Linked DNA regions of Homo sapiens: regions 1 and 3 are each linked to region 2. Evidence: promoter capture Hi-C in human tissues and cell types (Jung and others, 2019). All regions are on one chromosome and are shown on one strand. Each heading gives the region's core, a stretch centred on a gene start or on the middle of the fragment in contact. The rest is flanking DNA. Distances are from core to core; before and after follow the strand shown.

Region 1 (2,700 bases), core at 19-2,518, 440 kb before region 2:
ATGAATGGTATGAAACATTAAAGAAACTTACCACAGGGCAACATTCTGCTATAAGCAAGTATCAGTGGTAACTAGGTTTTATTTTGTTTTGGGAGGAATGATCTGTGATTTGCACATTGGGAATGAAGATGGGGATACTGTAGGGTACAATCAGTTCTTCCATGAGCCCATCACTAAGCACCAAGATAGGCACTGCTTTCTTCAATTAGAACACAGGAGCTCTGAAAATGTGCAGTGAGTTTTTAAATCAAAGTAATCTCCAGAGAGAAAAACAAAACAAAACTATTAGTATCACTCACCCCTTATCTTCTGGGAAGGGCTAATTCATCTTAAAGAAGGGATTTCAATTAATTTTAATCAGACCATTAAAATTCATTCTTCTTAACTCTGAACTGGATTTGTCTACCCCTAATTTCCATTATTCACCAGAGCCCGCAGTAAGTATTAAAAAGAGGTTGATATTGTTGACATTCTTGGAACTAAATGAAGACCTTGGAGTCTAGTTATTATTCTTTTCCACTTAATTGTCTGCCCTAAATAACAAGCTCCGGTCCAGTTTTCCCCAAGGGCAACTGTCAAAGAAATACTCTTTCAATACCTATTACAGCATGAAAATTAAGGAGAATAAGCTGCCAATTCTAGGCTGGAGACAAGAATTTAATCAGCACAAAGAGCTCCAACAAGGTGTCAAAGTTTTGAGTCCCTTGCTGACATTTAGCAGCATTTGCAATGCAAATTTTTCTAAAGCAGTCTTAAATTACTACCCTCTCTCTACCTTAGAATGACCATTTTCTAAAAAAGGTCCCCCAAAAAAGTTGTTAAAAAAATCAGACCTAATATTCTCCCCTAACACTTACAAGCTTAACTCTTAGTAACTCTCAAAGGAGGGAGGGCCCGTCTCCCCTCCCTCCTCCCCAGGCCTTCCAAACAGAAACACTGACACTGATGTGCTTCTTTCTGATAGACCTTTCTTCCCAGCAGGACATTATGTAGCTAAGCTCTCTGCATCTTCTCCCATCTAATACACACAGAAGACTGGTTTGTTTCTGGCCTATTCATTCATCTTCCCAACAGCAGCAAAGTTTATATCCAAGATTCCCATGCTAAAGATTTAAAAGGAGCCCTCATCAGCCACCTGTACAGAAACAGGTGCTTCATTACTGCTGGGCTGTAGCAGCCTCAGTTACACCTATGCTCCTCACCCTCTCCCAGTCTTTCCCGTTCTACAGTCCCCCATATTTTAGATAAGGAGACACCAAAGGAATGAAGGAAAGTATAACAGATTAGCAAGTTTTGAACCTCTAAAAATTTTTGGCAGACTTCTAGGTTCTCTATGGAAAGTAAAACAGTCATTTTAATGATCTATTCTATAATGATCTTCTAAGACTTACATCCAATGAAATACCAGTGGAAGCACACAGCCTCTCCAAAACAGGTCACAGCCACAGGTGGAATGAACCAGAAATGGACTCTGCAGCAGGGTCAGCAGTGGCTGGACTGTCTCATTCGCGCTCATGTGTTCACCTGGGGTGTCACCTGGGGTGACACCGAGTCAGTGACAAGGGCTTGGCCAATGAACCCGGGAAAAGCAGCTCCTCCTAGCTTAGTGACGGCCCATGCAGGACACATACACTTAGGGCATCTGTCCCTGACTGACATCCCTGCTTACCAGGTGACAGAGACAATGAACACAAGGTGTAGAGACGAGTAATTAAGCCCAAGCAGAGTGGAATGGAGCTCATAAACACCCAGATTCAGAGAAGGGTGCAGCTGATATGAGCCTGAGTAATTAGAGGAGGATTCATGGAGAGGCTGACAAGAAACATACCTTAAAGGATGGGGCACATGTAGCTGGGAGAAGACACATGAGTTTCCAGGGCATGAGAAAAGAAAAGATACCAGAATAGTTCCCCTGATTTTTGCTTCTAAGACAGTACCGCATCAAGAAAACTCACGGGACTTAAACCCACGGAGAAGCTGGTTTGCATGTAATCTCCACCATTTCTTACTTCCAAAAACTATGGAGCTTACGCAGTCATAAGATGGAAGACAAGTCCAACCTGGATCCTGTATGGTTAGGATGAAATATGCTGATGTATTAGCACAGCACGTGGCTGATGGTTGGCTGTTCTTGATGCTGTTATGCTAATTAACCTCTCTGGACTTCAATGGTATCATCTGAGAGACACAAGGGTTTAACCCAAAGACCTCCAAAACTCCCAGTTCCAAGGTAACATTACTCGAAAGCCCCTGCGGGGGTGTATTATGAAGTGTCTGGCACTAGGGAGCAAGCTTTCACTAGGTATTTCTATCTGCAGTCTGAGGTTTCAGACATGATTCCACAAATGTGCCTTATTAATATACAACCCTTCAAAAATCAGTCCTCTGTAAAAATCAGAAATAGGTTTTTGGATGTTATGTAAAACAATTAAGAGTACATGCTAGTATATTAATTCTGTACTTCTCTCTATTTAGGATTTCAACACTTTTAGAATTTTAACTTTAAAAACCCTCAATTTACTCAACTTCCTTACTAAAATTTCACCAACCATGAAGACTCTGTGTCTAGAAGCACGTACCTGAGGGGACTCGTTGCTGAGCCCATGCAAAGGCCACATAAACTGTGTCCTGCGATTACATGATGGCCGGCATCCCAGGCCCTGACTGACAGGCTCAGGGTTCCTAGGCCTGTCCACAGAG
Region 2 (2,806 bases), core at 1-2,500:
TCCCCTATGACCTTTCCCCCAAACTGACACTTTCTCTAAAATGTCCATTCCCGTAGCTAAAACACAGGTAACATTTCCTTGAAATTCAATACAACAAAAGTTCATTAACCAAAACTGAAGGAAATACTGAAATGAGATTGCACCTGTGGGATGATGGTTTTAATCTACATATAAATTTCAATTGTTTTAAAACCCAAATTGATTAACGGTACTACAGTTCCCAAGGAAGGCTTCAGGTAAGATGCTTATCATTCGGGTTTCTGCGTGGGACTAACAGGTTACTAGCAGCTCATGGGCAGCAATGACCCTAGGATGACGCCACGCGTGAGACGGCAAAGGGTGAGGGGTGAGGAGCGAGTCCGGCAGGTCCACTGGAGACTCCGAGCCCAAACCCCGCTCCCCTGAGCCGACCCGACTCGCCTCCTAGGTCTGGGGCGGCAACTAACAGCGCGCCCGGAGCACGTCCACAGGTTCAACCCGAAAAGCACAAGGGTCGGCCGTCCAGCGACCTCTCTTACCAGGGGGTCATAGAGCACCACGGAGCAGGACGTGCCAAAGGCCAGAAGTCCTCTGGGCCCAGAGCTCCAGTTCAGGACTCCCCGCACCCGGTTTGGGCAGCAAAACACGTGAGAAGTCTCCAGCACGGGTGCCACCATGTCGCCAACTGGTCAGCCGCACAAACAAGAGACGCGCACTTCCGCCCTCGGAGCGGAACTACTAGGGTGGTTTCTCCTGAGGCATCACCCAGTCCACGTTTCGCAGCCAGCCGAGGGCCAGACGGAGGCAGCCCCGCCCCCCTGAGACTCTCCGTTCCCACCGCAGGCTGGAACCCCTGTGCAAGGCCGCCGCTTTGCTAGCTCTGCTCTTGGACCGTGGCCCCGCTCCGCGAACGAGCCAGGCCTTTGTCTCAAGAGCGAAATCCGACCCGAGTGGCTCGGGACCCTCCCGAAGGACCCGGGGCTCATGTGCCTGGGGCAGCGTCAGAAACATCTCGCTGCCCCTTACGACCCGGCTCCCAGCAGCAGCCAGGGCTGGCCCCGGGGGCGCTGGCTAGCGAGTAGGGCCTCGAGGAAATGACCCCCAACTGCTTACAATGCGCTAGGGCCGCGCCACGCCCCCGCGGCGTCGGCGAACACACGGAAAAGCGGATCCGTCTGCGGAGCCGGGTTCCGGGGTCGCACTGCGCATGCCCTGCAGTCCTGGGCGAAGGGGGCGGTGGTTCCCCGCGGCGCTGCGCGCGGCGGTAATTAGTGATTGTCTTCCAGCTTCGCGAAGGCTAGGGGCGCGGCTGCCGGGTGGCTGCGCGGCGCTGCCCCCGGACCGAGGGGCAGCCAACCCAATGAAACCACCGCGTGTTCGCGCCTGGTAGAGATTTCTCGAAGACACCAGTGGGCCCGTTCCGAGCCCTCTGGACCGCCCGTGTGGAACCAAACCTGCGCGCGTGGCCGGGCCGTGGGACAACGAGGCCGCGGAGACGTGAGTCTTTCAGGTCCGGGAGCAGGGCGGCTGGGAGGGGAGCTCCTCAGGCCAGACAGGCGTGGCGGGGTAGGGGTGGTTCTGCGGAGAACCGGATCCTGCGGACCGGGCAGGGGGGCTACAGAAAGAGGATGCTGGGGGGAGCCCGCCGCAGGCGCCCACTCACCCTAGAGAGCCGGACTTCTTAAGGTGCTCAGATGGGCTTCGGGGTGCAACGGAGGATTTTTTGAGGAAAAGATCCGTACTTTTCATCCCATATTCGAAGAAGGGACTGACGTGTTTAGAAATAAAAAGCTTTTAGAAGAGAGCTTTGTGCCCTCTTTTCCGTTTTCTGTACTCGCCTTTTTCTCTAAGGCCCTTCCCTTCTGCTTTCCTTTTTCCTCCAGCACACACCAACTTGCAGGAAAGGAGATCCTTCAACGGGTCCACGACCGCGCTCAGCATCCTCCCTGGAGAAAGGCTCGGAGCTGTCCCCTGTGCTAGTCCCCTCCCACCCCGCTCCTCGCCTCTCTCCTGGGAATGATTTCTAAATGTTTATCTTTTACCTAGTAAAAGAATTCCCGAAACTTCAAGCCCCAAAGATTCCTCTTTCAGGAGCCTCGTTCTACGCCGTACCTCCATTTCCCACTGTTCCCTGTATGATACCTCGCACTTGTGCAACACATGAGTTTAACGAGTACTTGTAATATACATTCCTTCATGTGTTTTCCTCCTTCGCCTTGCAAAATAGGTTTTACCGGTATTTTAGATAAGGTAATGAATGCGAGAGCCCTGTCCAAAGAACAGCTGACCGTGGTAGAGCTGGATAGCCCCATGCTCTTGCTTAGTTGTAAACTTGACGTCTGCGTCTTTTGCTGGAGATGTGAGTTTGACCACCATCACCTCCACCGTTGGTGCTGGACATCCTGCTGGATCTGAATTAACTGAATTCTGGCTCTGCTTAACTGAATTCTGCTTTTCAAGCTCCAACTCAATTGCTTCCTCCTCTTTGGGGCACAGGCCTTTGGTTCCAAACACTACTGTGGATGATTAACAGCCTGTGATTAAATGTTGACTGGTTTGTAGTAACACAAGGATGCTACAGTGAGTTTTTCATGAAGTTCAGTTTACTTTAAGAATTCTATGTATGGACATAATGTGTCTGATTCATTGTCAAGTCGGAAAAAAGATTCAATGTGTATTTAAAGTATACACTTATTTGAGGCTGGGCGTAGTGGTCACGCCTGTAATCCCAGCACTTTGGGAATTGGAGGTGGAGGATCTCTTGAGGCCAGGAGTTCAAGACCAACCCGGACAACATAGTGAGACCTCGTCTCTAGAAAAAAAAAAA
Region 3 (2,700 bases), core at 182-2,681, 340 kb before region 2:
TGTAATTTAGAAGGATTTAGATTAGAGAAGGAAAAACCACCTCTCTCTGCCATGACCCTCATGGCAAGCAGTACAAATTGAACCCACCACGCCCACACACAGCCTCAGATCACCCTAAACACAGCATTTCAGAAATCTAGTATCAATCAATAGGCTTGGTCCTTGAAAGAAAACCTACTTAGGATCCTTGGTTTAAGTCAATGTGTGGGTGATCAATCTCTCACAAATGTCTGATGAACCTAGAATCATTAGGAAGCCATCAGCCAAGCCTTCCACCATCACACCCCTGGAAGCAGTGTCAGGGAGGAGCAATGGGCTAGAAAAGCCTTCCACAAGGGCGGGTGGGCAGCACTGCCCCTCCTGTACCAACCCCTGGCTCCCACCCCTGCGCTTTGCAGAAGCCAGCCCAGGCCACAGCCTCAGCCCTCGCCAGTCCAGGCCCAGGTCATTTCGGACCCATGGTTCTGGAGGCAGCCACGAACATCATTGCTTGTGCTCCTCTTAGGGTATGAGATCCGTGTCTAATTGTTTTTTTTGTTTGTTTGTTTGCTCTGTCACCCAGGCTGGAGTGCAATTGCATGATCTCAGCTCACTGCAACTTCCGCCTCCCGAGTTCAAGCAATTCTCCTGTCTCAGCCTCCTGAGTAGCTGGAATTACAGGTGCCCGCCACCATGCCCAGCTAATTTTTGTATTTTTAGTAGAGATGGGGTTTCACCATGTTGGCCAGGCTGGTCTCGAACTCTTGTCCTGAAGTGATCCGCCCTCCTCAGCCTCCCAAAGTGCTGGGATTACAGGCGTGAGCCACAGCGCCCAGCCATGTCTAACTTTTTGCCTAAGATTGTCATACCAATTTTTATATTTCTATTTTACTATTATTTAAAAAGTTGTAAACATCCCATGGCAGTTTGCCTGCGTGTGTGTGTGTGTGTCACAGAAAAAGATAGTCGGACACTGAAGGGCAGCTATCCCTGTGTGTTTTGGGGCCTATGGTACACAAGAAAGAAGGAAGAAAGAGGGGGGAGAGACAGAGGGTGGGAGCAAGAAGAGTGCTGAAAGATGAGTCTTTGTTCTTATTTCCTCTGAAACCAACCCTCTCCTCCTCCTCCCAGGACCTCCCTCCCCCTTTGCCTCCTCCTGGGCCTCCTTCCCTCCTAAGGACCCAGCCTGGTCTCCCTCTCTGACTGTGTCTCTGGCACTCCCTCTCTTTCTCCACTTGCACACAGATCCTTTCCCCTTCTGTAAGTTATCACATTGGCAGTCACCAAAGGAAAAGAAGTGCAATGTCTCTTAAGTGTTAGTTGATGGAATTTTTATCTTCTTGACCCAAGTTTCCTTGACTGGGCTTGACTCACTCCACAGGAGCCAATCCATCCCTGGCCTGAGCCTCCTGGGTGCTGGAGTCCAAGCTGTATGGCAGCATCACCCAGTACAAAGCATACCAAGCCTTAGAAGTATCCAGAGGTCTGCCCCGCTGCACATCTCAAATAGCAGTAAGCATTTTCTGGAATAATTTTAAGGGCAGCAAAATGTCCTTAGGAACTGCTCAAACGTTACTAATGAAAGGAATGTTTATTGCTCTAACTGACTTGTCCTTTGCTAATCCCTTCACCAGATACCTTTTATCAGAGAGGCATGCAGTTCATTTCTTCGACACGTCAATATTGACACAATCATCTGAAAACTCAAGTGCAGTGGCATGTTTCCCAAAAGAATTATCAACCTGGCCACAGATACGGTCCAAGTTGAATGTCAGCTATTGGAAGCATAAGGCTCTTCTGACTAAATAGAATTAAAGATGGTTGCTTTCTCCTATTTAATCTCATTGCAAAAACTACTTGTTCTATTATTGAGAACAATTCTAGCAATATTTTTGAGCTTAAGAAGCTATTTTCTGAATCAATCTTATGTTTGAGTATTTTATTATTTAACAGCAACCCAAATAAGAAAAAAAAGTTTTAAAGAAAAATAATTAGATTTTAATTTCTCCAACTTCTAGTGTCTCCTAAGCTTAAAAACACGAAGAAAGCACTGAGAACATTTATATTTTCTGCAAATAAATTGGCACTTGGGCCAGGTATGGTGGCTCATGCCTGTAATCCCAGCACTGGGAGGCTAAGGCGGGCAGATTGCTTAAGCACAGGAGTTCGAGAACAGCCTGGGCAACATGGTGAAACCCTATCTCTACAGAAAATACAAAAATTAGCTGGGCATGGTGGTGCACACCTGTAGTCCCAGCTCAGGAGGCTGAGGTGGGATGATTGCTTGAGGCAGGGAGACAGAGGTTGCAGTAAGCCGAGATAACACCACTGCACTCCAGCCTGGGGCGACATGGCAAGATTCTGTCTCAAAAAATATATATATTTTTTAAATAAACAAAAAAAATTTTTAAATAAACAAAAATATTTTTTAAATAAAAAATATATTTTTTAAATAAAAATATATATTATTTTTTTAAATAAAAATATATATTATTTTTTTAAATAAAAATATATATTATTTTTTTAAATAAAAATATATATTATTTTTTTAAATAAAAATATATATTACATATATATATTTTAGTGGCACTTGGGTTAAATGCTTGTCACAGCCTACAAGGTTTTCAGAAAATAATTCCTATTTATTCAATTCTAAATGAACAGAGATAATGGAAATGGAAGACAACCACCTAACTAATTTGGATTTTACTAAAATTTTAA

Evidence for each region. Contacts are between HindIII fragments. The study calls those that stand out against the background at their distance.
Region 1: a fragment that was not itself captured here is called in contact with the fragment with the promoter of SLC39A6 in region 2 in 2 of the 25 tissues and cell types used here (dorsolateral prefrontal cortex and lymphoblastoid cells).
Region 3: a fragment that was not itself captured here is called in contact with the fragment with the promoter of SLC39A6 in region 2 in 1 of the 25 tissues and cell types used here (H1 embryonic stem cells).

Annotation. Positions count from the first base shown.
Region 1 is chr18:36,562,931-36,565,630 of GRCh38, reverse strand. The region is part of intron 5 of FHOD3 (formin homology 2 domain containing 3); the gene reads right to left. Among named protein-coding and RNA genes, the nearest start is that of TPGS2, 260 kb to the left of the region's middle. The HindIII fragment of the contact is 5,121 bases long and covers 1-2,700 here.
Region 2 is chr18:36,127,784-36,130,589 of GRCh38, reverse strand. SLC39A6 (solute carrier family 39 member 6) reads left to right here and starts at 1,250. Exons shown (of 10, transcript NM_012319.4): 1 at 1,250-1,476. It overlaps ELP2 (elongator acetyltransferase complex subunit 2), which reads right to left and starts at 691. Exons shown (of 22, transcript NM_018255.4): 1 at 519-691. The coding sequence starts at 656. RefSeq lists enhancers at 440-649, 441-946, 810-999, 1,030-1,324, 947-1,452. The HindIII fragment of the contact is 7,969 bases long and covers 1-2,806 here.
Region 3 is chr18:36,463,163-36,465,862 of GRCh38, reverse strand. All of the region lies in intron 3 of FHOD3 (formin homology 2 domain containing 3), which reads right to left. Among named protein-coding and RNA genes, the nearest start is that of FHOD3, 170 kb to the right of the region's middle. RefSeq lists a silencer at 1,391-1,591. The HindIII fragment of the contact is 3,086 bases long and covers 1-2,700 here.